Regions from separate parts of the Homo sapiens genome. Here all the other regions are linked to region 1. Evidence: promoter capture Hi-C in 16 types of primary human blood cells and fetal thymus (Javierre and others, 2016). All regions are on one chromosome and are shown on one strand. Each heading gives the region's core, a stretch centred on a gene start or on the middle of the fragment in contact. The rest is flanking DNA. Distances are from core to core; before and after follow the strand shown.

Region 1 (3,765 bases), core at 181-2,680:
GTTACCTATTTTCTCAAACATGAAAGCTGTGTTTGAATCATCTTGTGTAACCTAACCAGTCGGACAGCTAATCTTCAGGATTTCAACAGTCATCGAAAAGGTGGAAGAACTGCTGCCATCTCTCTTCAGAACAGTTCTAAAACTCCCCTGGCGTGTACAAGCCACTACCAGCTAAAACTGAGTCACAACAACTCTTGGGCTCTAAATAAAGATCGAGGCGAAATCTTTCACTCCTATTTATTTCCCAACCAACCAAACAAGCAAAACGAAACAATCACCTTTCTACTCAATCATTGCTGAACAAACACCACATTCTATGTAAGTCCTCAGTGCAATTTTCCTTCCACCCATTCCCTAGGCCTGCTAAGCTATGTTCCTGCCCAGTACCTTCTTTTCTCTTCAAGTGAAAAACACCATTTAAAGACCAACTCCTCTTTCGCAGGGTAGTTAACTTTATGCTAACTGCAGATCCATCTTATCTAGTCGCTTAAGACAATTAACTCTTAGCTTAATAAATACTATGTATTGTGGGCTAGCTGGAGCTCAGCAATGAGCTTGGTCTCCGCGCCTGGGGGACGGGTGAAAACAAGTAACTGAATTAGATGGGACCAGCGGCCCACAGAATTCAGGAAGGCGCTCACACTGGTCTCCCGCTTTCACAATGGGTCTATTGGTCCAAAGTGGCAACTTAAGAGAGGCTCTTAATGCTTACGCTTTCTCGTACGGCTGACGGATTTGCCAAATCCCACCCTTTGGGAAAGTGACAGACTGGACTTAACTCTTTGGCTGCCCCTACTGGGCAAACCCAAGGGAAACCCCAATCCCCAAGCGCTTTAAAAATGTGACGAGTTCAATTTAACTCTTTCCGAGCCCCCGCGGCGTTGAGGACACAGCCCTTGGAAAATGTCTACACTGACTTAACCCTTCCGCTGCCGATCTCAGTGCTACTCCCCGCGCCGCCAACACGCGGGAAATTCCAAATGCTGGCCCTCGGGAGATGACAGGCCCAGCTTCGCACGCCCCCCGCCATCAGTCCCATCGCGCCGAGGGGGGCCCCAACTCAGGCCTTGGAGAAGCGCCGGGCCGGACTCCTGGCTGCGGAGCCCCGGGCGAGTGAGTGGGCGGGCGCTCACCGCGATGACATTGACGAAGGTGGTCTTGCCCGAGTACTGCAGCCCCACGAGCGTCAGCTCCATCTCTTCCTTCCAGAAGAGCGAACGGAACCAGTCCAGCAGGCGGGAGATGAGCGCCAGCATGATGGCGGCCGGGAGCGAGAACGGACGGGAGGACGGACGAGCGGCGGCGTCGACGACTTCCACACGAGCGGGCCTCCGCCCGGACCCTCCAACGGCTCCTTGGTGCCCCGGCGCGACACGGGCGGACACCGGCGGGCGGCAGCAGCCAGACCCAGGAAGCCGAGCGGATCATATGACTCGCCCTACCCCCCACGCCCGTCCCGGCGCCGCCGTCGGCACCCACGGCAAGAGCGGCGCGGCCAATCCGGCCAGGCCCGCCCGCCGCTGGCATCGCCACCTGGTGGGCATGCTCCGCAGCACAGCGTACCCTCGGGCCCCCTTGAGGCTTTCTCTACATTCATTCATTGTTGGTTCATTCGTCATTCATCCACTTATACATTCGTTAATTCATTCATTCATTTTTTGCTATAATTGTTCATTAACAATCTGCAGGAAGACTTCAAGACTCTGGAAGAGTTGGCGTGGAATAAAAATTCCTGTCCTACATTTTTGGTAGTAGCAAAAGATAGTGTTAACTTAAAAATGACACCGTTTATAAATTTAGAAAGGAGAGCATTATTTCTTAAGAAGGGGATTATAAGCTGTAGGCAGGACGTGCAGCCTCGGGCCAAAAAAAACAAAAGTAAGCACTTTGAGAGAGGGAAGGGTGCAACAAGAATTTATATTGAGGAGTTGGCCAAGTAAACATATTTAACTTATGGAAGGAGCTATTAATATGTATGAAGGTGGTCTTACACACATAGTGAACAAATCTGTATGTTGCATATGACCTATGTTCATTTGGGGTGGCGACTTAACATTTAAATGTATTATAATCAGGCAGGGCGCGGTGGCTCATGCCTGTAATCCCAGCACTTTGGGAGGCAAAGGTGGGCAGATCACCTGAGGTCAGGAGTTTGAGACCAGCCTGACCAACATGGTGAAGCCCCATCTCTACTAAAAATACAAAATTAGCCGAACGTGGTGGCATGCACCTGTAGCCTCAGCTGCTTGGGAAGCCGAGGTGGGAGAATTGTGTGAACCCAGGAGGCGAAGGTTGCAGTGAGCTGAGATCATGCCACTGCACTTCAGCCTGGGTGATAGAGTGAGACCCTCGTCTCAAAAAACAACAATTAAAAAATAAATAAAGTAAAAGTATTATAATCAGGCCCTCCACATCAGAAAGTGAATCAGGGACGGGAAAGGTATTGAAGTGCTTGGCCTCTGTAAAACCAGCCAGAACTGGGCTGGGCGCGGTGGCTCACAGCCTGTAATCCAAACACTTTGAGAGGCTGAGGCAGGTGGATCAGGAGGTCAGGAGTTTGAGACCAGCCTGGCCAACAAGGTGAAACCCCGTCTCTACTAAAGATACAAAAAATTAGCCCAGGCCGGGTGCAGTGGCTCATGCCTGTAATCCCAGCACTTTGGGAGGTCAAGGCGGGCAGATCACCTCAGGTTGGGAGTTCAAGACCAGCCCGACCAACATGGTGAAACCCCGTCTCTACTAAAAATACAAAAATTAGCGGGACATGGTGGCACGCGCCTGTAATCCCAGCTATGCTGGAGGCTGAGGCAGGAGAATCGCTTGACTCCGGGAGGCAGAGGTTGCAGTGACCGAGGTCATGCCACTGCACGCCAGCCTGGGTGACAGAGCGAGACTTCATCTCAAAAAAAAAAAAAAGAAAGAAAGAAAAGAAAAAGCCAGCCAGAACCAATGCATGGATGCATGGTTAGTTGTCTCTTAACAGGAGAAAGTTACAGAAATCAGTCTCTTGTCTAATCAAAGCCATAGTTAGGCTTGTGGAACAGGTCAGTTAGCCTGCATCTGGCAGAGAGTTGTAACTGTTTTAATTGTGTTTATCTCCAGGCCAGTGCTGGTTTAGCTGGTAGAGAAAAAGAGAAACCTTGCACTTAGTCATTTAACTCTTGCCTAGTATGGCCTTAGGTCCTGTTTATAATTTGGTATCTAATTGTCACAAAGAGTCTGTTCTGTCAGTCTTGTGATCTCTATTTTAACGTTAATGTTGGTCGTTTGTTGTTTCTTTCTTTTTTTTTTTTTTTTTTTTGAGACGGAGTCTCGCTCTGTCGCCCAGGCTGGAGTGCAGTGATGCGATCTCGGCTCACTGCAAGCTCCGCCTCCCGGGTTCACACCATTCTCCTGCCTCAGCCTCCCGAGTAGTTGGGACTACAGGCGTCCGCCACCACGCCCGGCTAATTTTTTGTATTTTTAGTAGAGACGGGGTTTCACCCTGCTAGCCAGGATGGTCTCGATCTCCTGACCTCGTGATCCGCTCGCCTACGGCCTCCCAAAGTGCTGGGATTACAGGCTTGAGCCACCGCGCCCGGCCGGTCGTTTGTTGTTTCTAAACGACATAAGGGAGGAGGTATAACCAGGTGTGACTGACTTCCCATCTTGTGGAGGGAAGGAACTCAGTTTTTAAGACTTTCCTAGGATAGGCCGGGCGCGGTGGCTCACGCCTGTAATCCCAGCACTTTGGGAGGCCGAGGTGGGCGGATCACAAGGTCAGGA
Region 2 (3,856 bases), core at 353-2,852, 430 kb after region 1:
CAGGGAGTTGCACTTGATCTCTGTGTAGACATTCTTACCCTCCGTGCACACAGCCAGGAGCTCGACCAAGTGGATGTGGTACATGAGAGGGCTGTTCTCATCCATCCGATCCCGTTCTGACCGCATCATCTGGATCAGAGTCTGGAAAGAGGCTCTGTCGTTGTAGAACACGAGGACATCCTCTCCCGAATTGACCAGCTACATAAAGAACAGGGTGGGTTTAGATTACAAGCTTGCAGGGGTGGGGCAGCATGAAAAAAATCTATTCACAGAGGAAGAGAGAGGTTCTGTTAGCATTTATCTTCCCAAATCAGTCTTACCTATTTTGACTTCATTCATTTATATAACTGAACAACTAGAAATCTTCAGCATCATAATTTTAGTCCACAGATACAGAAATACCACACTGGCCCTAGAAAGCTATTAGGGGAAGAGAAAGCCTGCATACCAGCATTAATGCATCAAGTGGAAACAGAGATTGCAAGCTTGCACTGGTATTTCCATACCTACCAATTAGGCTATGATATTTCTTTTTAAATGTTTCCATCTTATTTATTTTTTTTGAGATGGAATTTCACTCTTGTTGCCCAGGCTGGAGTGCAATGCCGTGATCTCGGCTCACCACAACCTCCGCCTCCCAGGTTGGTTCAAGCGATTCTCCTGCCTCAGCCTCCTGAGTAGCTGGGATTACAGGGATGCACCACCATGCCTGGCTAATTTTGTATTTTTAGTAGAGACGGGGTTTCCCCATGTTGGCTAGGCTGGTCTCGAACTCTCAACCTCAGATGATCCACCCAACTCGGCCTCCCAAAGTGCTGGGATTATAGGTGTGAGCCAATGTGCCCTGCCTCCATCTTATTTTTATGCTTTACAATGTATCCCCTTTACAATTCTTTCATCTACCATCTTATCTCTTCAATCAACAAATTACTTTTAATTAAGATATGCCTTCCTCTCCATACTTACTCTTCAAAAAGTTGAGGCATTCCTGTTTATAACTTGTCCCCTAAGATGAGGCTTCTTGCAAATTTATTTAAGAATAAATCGATTTCATCAGCAGTACATGAAGTACAAAAAACCCAGAAAGGGCTGGCACAGAAGTCAAAATAAACATGGTCAATACTTACTAATGACTAACCTTTATGAGCTCTAATGATTAGATGCCAGATACCAAGATAAACTCTTTAGACAAACTTCCTAACCTCATTGTATCTCAGTTTCTTCATCTGTGAAACCAGGACAAATACAATAGCTAACTCACAGTGCTATGTAGATTAAATAATTTATTATAGACAAACTGCTTAGGACTGTGCCTAGAGTATGACCGGCTTCCAAAAAGTGTTAGGCATTAATGTCACCATTATCTCATTTACCCCACATATCAACTCTTTAAAGTGAAATCTGCGTATCTTCATGTTATAGAAAAGCTCACTGAGGAGTTGAAAGGTCAAGTAATGTATCTCATGGCACCCTTCAGTGAAGGGGTTCAGGTGACATTTGTATCCCAGGTTGAGCCGACTCTCTCTTTTTTTTATTTTTTTTCTAAGAGACAACGTCTCACTCTGTTGCCCAGGCTGGAGTGCAGTGGGTGCCATCATAGCTCACTGCAAGGTCAAAATCCTGGGCTCAAGGGATCTTCCTCTGTAACTGGGATTATGGGCACATGCCACTACACCCAGCTAATTTTTAAAATTTTTTGTAGAAACAAGGGTCTTACTATGTTGCCCAGGCTGGTCCTGTACTCCTGGCCTCAAGTGATGCTCCTGCCTCAGCCTCCCAAAGAGCTGGGATTACAGGCATGAGCCACCACGTTGGCCTCAACTCTTAATCACACTACCCTCCCTGCCAATGGAACCATATACGTAGACAAGATTGTAAATCAAAGTGAATTCATAATAAACCAAGTAAGGCTTTTCCTTGATTCCACAGACCAACTGCTCCTCAAAAAGCATCAGGCAAAATTTTTTCCATCTAATTAATTAGGTGAATAATTTTTAAAATTCATAATCCACAAGAATGGAAGCGTTCTGGCTCACTGGGTCCTGACTACATTTTATCTCCATTCCCTATAATTCAGTTCCTTATTCCTCTTTCTGTCCCCTGTCAGAAAAATCCAAGCCATCCTTCCTTAAATTGGTTGCTATGAAATATCAGATCAGATTCTTGCCTATATCTACAACTTAAGCTCACACAAGAGATGACACAGACATATGCACACACAATTACTTTCTGTCCTTCTGTATGGCTCCTGAAGAGGGTGCAAGTTCATACAGATAAGATTAAATAATTTTAAAATTTCTACAGAACACCAGATGGAGGTATACAGAAATATATAACAATCACCTCGGCCATAACCATGTCTTGGCATTTTTTAATAAATTTCCCTTCTGCCTTGACAATTGTCTGTAAGAACTTTATATACTGGACATTCCGACCGTGAGTCTCTATGCAGTGAACGAAGTGCTGAACAACTCTCTCGTTGATCTCACTGCAAAGCTGGAAATTGTTCATGAAGATGTGCTGCATGGTTACTGCCTCCAGGATCTGGCACAAGAGTGAGGAAAAGAGCACAGGGACAAGTCAAAAAGCTGACAGAACAGATTAAAAAGTGAGAAAAAGAAGAGTCCACTGAAACACACACAAGGGAAGCATTTAAACCCATGAAGATATGTTTCTCTCATTCTTGCTTCTGTACTACCTTCTTTTTTAGTAAGCTTTTTTCATTGACATATAAATAAACATACAGAAAAGTAAACAACTCATTAGCATTCAGCTGAATAGATTATAAAGGGACCTTGAACACCCAGATCAAGAAACAAAACAGGTCTCCTTTATGCCTTATCTCACAATTTAACTACTATTTTGACTTATATAACCAGATTAGTTTTGCCTGTTCTTAAACCTCTTGCACTCTTTTTCACTGATATGTAAGTTCCATTGCATGAATATATGACAGTATCTTTATTCTATGGTGGAAGGGCATTTGGAGTAGGATCCAGTTTTAATAGATAGTAACATTCCTAGTATTATAAATACTAGAGTTGCTGTGAACATTCTTACACATGTCTTCTGGTGAACTTAAACCCATACTTCTTTTGGGTCTAAGAACAGAATTGTTGGGTCACAAAGTATGAGTATGTTTGGCTTTAGAAGATACTGACAGCTTTCAAAAGATGTTAACAAGTTGCATTCTACATTCCAGCTGTTCCTATCCTTGTCAACACTTAGTATTGTCAGTCTTTTAAATTTTAGCCACATCTTATTGTGGCTAAACATAACTTAATTTGCATTTCTCTGATGTCTAATCATGTTGAACACTTTGTCACATTTACTGGCCATTTGGATATCCTCTCCAACAGGGTGTCTGTTCAAGTTTTTTGCCTTTACGTTCTTATTTACTTATTTATTTATTTGAGATACAGTCTTGCTTTGTCACCCAGGCTGGAATGCAGTGGTGCAATCTTGGCTCACTGCAACCTCCACCTCCTGAGTTCAAGCTATTCTCCTGCCTCAGCCTCCAAGTAGCTGAATTACAGGTGCTCACCATCATACCCAACTAATATTTGTATTTTTAATAGAGATAAGGTTTCACCATGTTGGCCAGGCTGGTCTCAAACTCCTGATCTCAAGTGATCCGCCTGCCTTGGCCTCCCAAAGTGCTGGGATTACAGGCGTGAGCCACCATGCCTGGCCTATTTTTAAAAGAAGGTCAACTTTTTCCTTAGTGACTTTTTTGAGTGTGTTATGTACATTCTGGATATGAATTCTTTGTTGAGAACGTGCATCGCAAATGTCTTTTACTCTCTGCCTCCCCTTTGGATGCTCTTAATGGTGTCAGCGGACAAACAGAAGTTCT
Region 3 (3,768 bases), core at 1,050-3,549, 450 kb after region 1:
AAGATTGTTGTCACATGTACACAGTCCAATATGGCCAGAAGGATCTTAGTTAATCGTAGAAGGTCAGAGAAGTTGTAGAAACCAAAGTATATGAGATTCCTAGCTAAATTTACAACCTATTGTATTAAAATAAAAGAAGAAGACGGTATTACATAAACTGCATCCCCTTCAATTCCATTTGATGTTGACCAGTTTAGAAATGACAGACTTGGACCTTCCTTATGGTAAGAGAAGGCATGTATTTTCCTTGCACTTTCTGATAAATTTTCATTTTGTTTCATAAGGAGGAAAAATAAGAAATGGAAAGCTACTGATCTGCTCTGATGACTAATCAAAAAAAAAAAAAGACCTCATCATTTGCTCTACACAGCTTCCCAAGGATAATATTAACACCAGGCAAGCAGAGTTATTCCCAATAAGGACACAGATAATAACACTCTGCGATCCTCAGCAATACAGCTCTTAAAAGGCAAAAGCAGTCTCAGAAACGTTGTTAACTCAGAAGTAACAAGGATTTATGTTCTGCAAATGATTAAGCTATGGCAGATTGCAAGCACAGTGTTTCTCTCTTGTCAGTTTTAACACAAAGTGATGTTCTATCATTTTATGTGGTTCAAGTCACCTTGTATATTTCTTTTAAGCCCATAACTACTATTAAGCCATGTGACTGGTATCCGTTTTATTTTATTCTGGAACAAAACCAAGCTGAATTCCTTTCCATTACAAAACCAGAGCATCATGACCAAAATCACAACCTACTCACATATTTTCTATTTGCCCCATAGAAAAATGACCACTGAGAGGCAGATAATACACATAGAAGATTTCATCATGAGTTACCTCAAACGTAAGCTTATTCTTCTCTTTATCAGAGAAAGGGAACCTCTGACAAACCACATCTCTTAAATACTCCTCCACAAACTCCATGGTCTGAGCAAATCTCTCCTTAATTTCATCTTTGGAAGCTCCACTACTATCATAGCTGAAAAGAAAGGAGAAAGAAAGGAAACAAAATTTCAAGTTATTCCCAGAGAGGTCTTCCTGGGTCACTCAGCTTCAAAAGTCAACATCCCCTAACCCTTGGCATCCCTTGACCCTACTTTATTTTTTCCCTCCTTAGCATATATCACCAACTATATATTTGAGTCGTTTATCTTGCCTATTGTCTGTCTTCCACCAACTAGCATAGAGATTGCTTTCTAGTTTGTTCACTGATATATTTCTTGAGCTTGGCACATAGTACACACTTAAATATTTGCAGAATGAAAGAGGAGATAAATGAGATATAAAAAATACAATCGGGGCCAGGCGCGGTGGCTCACGCCTGTAATCCCAGCACTTTGGGAGGCCGAGGTGGACGGCTCACAAGGTCAGGAGATCGAGACCGTCCTAGCTAACACGGTGAAACCCCGTCCCTACTAAAAATACAAAAAATTAGCCGGGCGTGGTGGTGGGCGTCTGTAGTCCCAGCTACTTGGGAGGCTGAGGAAGGAGAATGGCACGAACCCGGGAGGCAGAGCTTGTAGTGAGCCGAGATTGCGCCACTGCAGTTCAGCCTGGGCAACAGAGTGAGACTCCATCTCAAACAAACAAACAAACAAACAAAAACCAAAAACATAATCATGCCATCTTTCACATTCTTGAGGAAAAAAATATTTGCCATCCACTTAATTTTATTTTAAGCTTGAAGAAAAAACCAACACTTCATCTTTCTTCTAAGATTTAATGAGACCATATGGGGCTATCTACTGCCGCACAGAATAATGTAAAGTGAGGTTTTCAGGTGCCAGGCTCACTCGTCAATGGCGATCTCCGAGGGAATCTCCGACCAGAGGCGGGCATATTTCACGGGGGTGACTTGTTCCTGGGGATCTCGGTCCACATGCATGTGAAGCATGAGGCGGCAGAAGGACGCCCTGAGGTCATAGGGCAGGTTCTCGTCAGACATGCAGCGGAGAATGAGATCGACATCCAGCTGGCCTGAGATTTCGTTGATGGCCAGGTATTGGCGGTCCAGACACATCCTCGCAAAGAGGTTCAGCTGATATCTAGAGGAAGGAACAAGGGCACACAGCTCACGCTCCAGAAATCATTCAGGATGAATGAAGGGTCGTCTGGGCAGCCCTGACTGTCATGGGAGTGACATTTGGCCAACTAAACTCATACATCAACACCCCTAAATTGCTCTTGTATACCAGGATTTTGGCTTTGGTACCAAGCAGATAAAAGAACTATTCAAGCTGTGCAGTAGAGTGTGGGTTGACAGCCAACAGGAACACATGTCTATCCAGCTGTGTTGGAGCAATTATGTGACGACCTAATTCCACTAGGTCCTTAATGTTTACTTTTTAAAATAAACGGGGGGAATGCTAAGGCCTAAGATGGTTGTCTATTTCTTTCCCTTCAGCTGTGTTTTATACAGTAAAGACCATGTAGGAAATGTTCAAGATATCACACATATTCAGCCTAATTAGAAATTTTATAACATTTTAAAGATCTTATATCATGTAAGTCACTCTAATTCCTACACGTGTAAAAAAACATTTCATTTACAAAAGTAGGAGACTCCTCACTTTTCATCTTCATCCAATTGCAAGTGAATGTTGTTAACTGGAACCTGACCAATTAAGGCACTCTTTCTCATTCACTTGGGAGAAGATTCATCAAACACTGAAAGAGTAAACATACTTGAAATGTGAAATAACGAGAAAGCCACAGGCTTTCAAAATACTGCCTTCTGAATTAAAAACTCTATGTATTTCTAATAATCATGATTTGAAGACATTCTCAGCCTCATTAGATGTCGGGGAAATGCAAGTGTAGACATGAGTCTATTTCACACTTATAAAATTACCAAAAATTAAAAAGCATCATGATATTCAAGGTTAACAAAGACATGAAGAAACAAAGCTTGTCGTCTACAACTGGTGGGTGTGTACACTGACACATCCAATTTAGAATTGCTTAGTAAAGCTTAAAATATGAATATCCTCCAAGCCCACCTCCCAGTGTGGAATGGAAATTCATACATATACTCAGAAAAATTTGAATGAAGATGTTTCCTGACATGAAGAACTGCAGCATGTGATCAAATATCAAACAGCGATGAAAATGTGATAAATCAATAAAACAGAATATCATCCAACAGTCCAAATTACAGAAATGGATTAATCTCTATTAACGCAGATATATTCAATATGGCTTCAGTACCCGTATTGAATAAATAAGGCAAGTTTTAGAATGGTATTTGGAGTACAGTCCCATTTATATAAAATTTTAAGTAGAGATAAAATACTACATATGATTTACAGATGCATACAAATGCAGCACACAGAGAATGTGGATAGGATGCGTACATCACACATGAATGAAAGAACAGAATACAGGAGGCAAGAAAAGGCATTTTATCTGCAGTTTTATTTATTTTATTAAAAAATAATAAAAGCCTTGCTTTATCTTCCCTTTCCTTTTCTTTTAAAAGTATTAATTGGTTCACTTCCTTTCTTTCTTCCCCTTCCCTTCCCTTCAGGTGGCAGGACTGGCAGGTCTTACAGCTGGAGCCAAGGAGACACTGGGGACCGTGGAGGTGGGTGGCAGAGGTGAGACAGGTACACACAGGGAAACGGGCAGATGGGTAAACATACAGGGAATCGTGGCAGCTGGAGGGAGTCATGAAATGGAAAAGGTGAAGGCTAGAATAAATCCTATGGTGTTGGAATGGAATTGGAAGTATTAGTGTAAGTACATGCTTTTTATTATATATTTGTG
Region 4 (3,615 bases), core at 267-2,766, 480 kb after region 1:
ATTAGAATTCTAATTCATGCTGCAATTACACAGAAAGGAAGGCTTGAGGTGAAGAAAGAGCTCCATGTTAGTTGAAGCTCTCATTGCCTCTTTCACCAAGCATTCAGAACATTTCCTTCTTTGTCCTGCAATTCTAGACTCTCCTTACAACAAATTACATGCTGTGGGCAGAATCTTCTAGCTTCTTTAAGTTGCACACTGATTATGTTATTCCCTTCCTCAAACAACTTTCCAAATTTCTCCCCTGCCCATAAATTAAATCCCAACTCCCTATAGCCTGGATATATGGCCCTTCAGCCTCTGGTCTCCAAAAACAGTTCTGTTTAATTTCCCATGCCTATCCCGTGCCCTTCACCAAACAAGTTACTGAGTTTTATCCCACGCTGCTTCACGTTTCCACATTCTGCACCATTCTCTTACATGAAGTAACCTACTCCATTCATCTCTTCCTTCTGAAATACAAATCATCCTGCAGGTACCAGATCAGATGCTATCTCCTTCAGGAAGTCTTCCTTAATTCTTCACCCACCCAGACATTCACCCTCTCTCACTGAAACCTCCAGAGCATGTGGAATATGCCTCTTACCACCTTCACCATCCCCTTGTGTGTTCCAGTTATCTGGGTGTATATCTTCTCATTTCTGCCCCATCACCAATGTGGGCATCACCTATGTATTGTGTCAGGTAGACACCTGGTTAAATATTGTTGTGATAGATAAATGAGCAAGGGAAAGAAAACAATAGAAGGGATTAGATGGCTCAGAGAAAGCTATTTCTAATTTCGTTTTTGAATTTGTTTCCAAAGTACTTATTCTTTCCTTCTGCACAAATATGCAGCACCATGATATGCCATGATGCACTTACTTCACTATGCCATCCCCAACCCATTTTTGGAATAAGGTGGGTATAAGTACTTGTTTGTGACTTATATATATACACACACATGTATTCTGTGTGTGTGTGTAGGTGTGTGTATGTGGGTGTATAGACACATATAGGTATATGTATGTATGAATATTTGTAGGATAGAGAGAGAGAGAGCCTATATACAGGCTGATATCCTCTAAACCCAGGAGCCCTTTCTCCACCCTACCCTTACCTCCACCTCCCACAGGGCTTTTGAACTGGTGGCAGATGTGGCCGACTGCCGGCCCGTGGTTCTCAGGAAGACGTGCTGCTTCTTCCTGTGTTCGTCACAGGTGAGAAACTTCTCCTGCTCAGCATGAAACAGCCTCACCACGTCACCCTGACAGTCAACACAAGAAAGAATTAAGGAAAAAAGAATTTAAAAAGAGAATTAGACTGCTGCCCCCAAGAAGAGCCAAGTAATGCTCAGCCCATAAAGCATCAAACTCACCCCCTTTAATATGTCGTCTTTGTTATCACTCCATTTCATGAAAAGGACTATTTTCCAGCTTGTATTGCAGTTGACGGAATTGACCTGAAACACAGATTCGAGTTATTTTTTCACGTACCCCTCACAACAACTGTGTCATCCAGCCCCCAGACTTCTCACCGCAGCCTAGGAAGCAAGGCTGTACTTGAGACTAAAAACTCTAAAGATTGACGCCACTAAAATCACAGCACCTGCAAAATCAACTGGCCTGCTGGCAGAGTTTGGAAATAAATGGTTCATTTGCACCAATCACTATGCACATTCCAACCATGACTAATGGAACCAAGCCTCCTGCCTTTCTGGAATGATATTTTCATTTTCCTCCAAGTCTCTTGTTCTGTAGCCAGAAAGTAAAGGCCTGATGAAAATAAGTACTTATAAAATGGGATGAGCCATAAAGGGAAAAAAAATGAGTCCAGTGTATACACTCGAAAATGTTAATGATCATTGTTAACAACAGCAGCCATTGTTTGTGCACTAAATCTGTGCCAGGCACTAGGTTTAGGTGCTAACACGCACAATCTCCTTTAATTCTTGGCAACACCCTGAAAAATAGGTCCGACCGCCGCCCCCATTTCAGAGATAAGGAAACTGATATGCAGGGAGACCGGGTAACCAACCTGCCGTCACAGAGCTTGGAAAGGCAGACAGGATGTGAACCCACATCTATCCCACTGAAGAGTTTATGTCTTTACCCATCAGACAAATATTTATGTCACAAGGAAGTAACATCCTTGCATCCTATAATTGCTAATTTAGAGGAGAAGTAGATGTATTGCCAAAAGCAAGCTATCACTCTTGCAGGGCTGCTGATAAGCTGCAGTGTTCCTTTTTGAACAGTTAAAAAGAGGCACCCTGTATATGGAGACAAATTAGAAAAAGGTGCTCCTATGGCCAGAAAAAAATTAGTAAAAGGGTTCATCTCTGGCTTCACCAATGAAAAAACAACCCCTCAGTGACGCAAGGCTTCACAAACTGAGCACTAGAGTGAGTATCAGCCCACATCTACTACCCACTGCACACAGTTGCACAACCTTACACGGCAGCCTTGACCCTGGGCCTGTTTCTTCACCTGCAGAATGGGCACCCTGCCCCAAGTCACTGCTGAAGTCACTCTCAGCACACGCATGCACTGGCGCCTGCCAGACCCGCTCCTGCAGGATAACCACACCCACACACATAACTCAATGTCCTTACCTCATTGCAGCCTGGGTTATCTACCAGTTGATGGCTGCTAGCATGTAGGGGCTGACCAGCATTGACGGGGTTCAGAACCACCTTGTCACCTATGACCACCTGGAATGGAAAGGAGCAATAGAGCTTTGCACAAAACTGATAAGGACTGCGGATTGACCACTGGGCAGTTCTAGAAGACATATGAGTCTGTGCTGAAGAAGGCAAGGCCTATCCCCAGCAAGTATAAAGATGTAGCACACACCACGCCTTCTTTAAAACCTGACCCTGTGCAGAGGGGGTCATGTTTACAAGGCTAAGCCTGAATGTTGTTCCTCGAGTGTCACTGATTATACAGAGATGTTTCAAAGCCAGTTCAGAGCAGGAAAAAAAAAAAAAACTGTTCAGTTTAAGGTACCTATATAAGTAAGTTTTAACTAAATTTAAGAAAAAACAAGATAGAGTCAGAGTAAGTCTTTATCTTTGACAAAGCCATAACTTTATGTTTCTAAAACAATTACTTTCATATTTTTACTATAACATTCGGAAATACATGGTCTATGATCAAGTCATATATACAGCCATTGAGACTTATACGCATGTTTCTATAATTATAATACTATATATATATGTAACTAAAACAAAAGTTACCCCCCCCCCAAAAAAACAATACTTATCATTATGTGATGTAACACAGTCTGATCTTTCTGTTCTATCCCACTTTCAAAAAGGATAGTCACAAGCCACTAAACTGATTTCATGGCCCACAAATGGGTCTACACCTATTCTTTGTAAAATATTATTTTAAATTCAAGTCCATCTCATCTTCTCAACTAAGCCATGGCCACACACAGATTCGTTTAAAGGATAGGAAACCAAAGGATGTGCTGAAAATGAAATTCAGAACAAGGCACACTTGTCTTTTATTTTTGGTTAGAAAAGATGGTTTCCTAACATGAAAAACCATCTATTTTCAAGCTTATCACATTTGAGGAGCATATACAATTGAATTTTCTCTAACTCCAAATGAATATAAGTTCATTCAA

The links. Contacts are between HindIII fragments. The CHiCAGO score rates a contact against its expected background, and 5 or more counts as called.
Region 2: a contact is called between a fragment that was not itself captured here and the fragment with the promoter of ARL8B in region 1, in 1 of 17 cell types (activated CD4 T cells). The highest score is 5.2, in activated CD4 T cells.
Region 3: a fragment that was not itself captured here is called in contact with the fragment with the promoter of ARL8B in region 1 in 1 of 17 cell types (activated CD4 T cells); the score reaches 6.6 in activated CD4 T cells.
Region 4: a contact is called between a fragment that was not itself captured here and the fragment with the promoter of ARL8B in region 1, in 1 of 17 cell types (M2 macrophages). The highest score is 5.9, in M2 macrophages.

What each region holds. Positions count from the first base shown.
Region 1 is chr3:5,119,957-5,123,721 of GRCh38, reverse strand. It overlaps ARL8B (ARF like GTPase 8B), which reads right to left and starts at 1,430. Exons shown (of 7, transcript NM_018184.3): 1 at 1,134-1,430. The coding sequence starts at 1,256. LOC124906212 (a long non-coding RNA gene) reads right to left here and starts at 663. Exons shown (of 2, transcript XR_007095800.1): 1 at 6-663. RefSeq lists a silencer at 1,365-1,624. The HindIII fragment of the contact is 19,308 bases long and covers 1-3,765 here.
Region 2 is chr3:4,689,832-4,693,687 of GRCh38, reverse strand. ITPR1 (inositol 1,4,5-trisphosphate receptor type 1) reads right to left here. Exons shown (of 62, transcript NM_001378452.1): 32 at 2,344-2,544; 33 at 1-198. Among named protein-coding and RNA genes, the nearest start is that of EGOT, 60 kb to the left of the region's middle. The HindIII fragment of the contact is 2,229 bases long and covers 488-2,716 here.
Region 3 is chr3:4,671,416-4,675,183 of GRCh38, reverse strand. It overlaps ITPR1 (inositol 1,4,5-trisphosphate receptor type 1), which reads right to left. Exons shown (of 62, transcript NM_001378452.1): 21 at 1,797-2,048; 22 at 841-982; 23 at 1-116. Among named protein-coding and RNA genes, the nearest start is that of EGOT, 78 kb to the left of the region's middle. The HindIII fragment of the contact is 1,227 bases long and covers 1,686-2,912 here.
Region 4 is chr3:4,643,213-4,646,827 of GRCh38, reverse strand. ITPR1 (inositol 1,4,5-trisphosphate receptor type 1) reads right to left here. Exons shown (of 62, transcript NM_001378452.1): 8 at 2,594-2,692; 9 at 1,358-1,441; 10 at 1,100-1,246. Among named protein-coding and RNA genes, the nearest start is that of EGOT, 110 kb to the left of the region's middle. The HindIII fragment of the contact is 4,067 bases long and covers 1-3,549 here.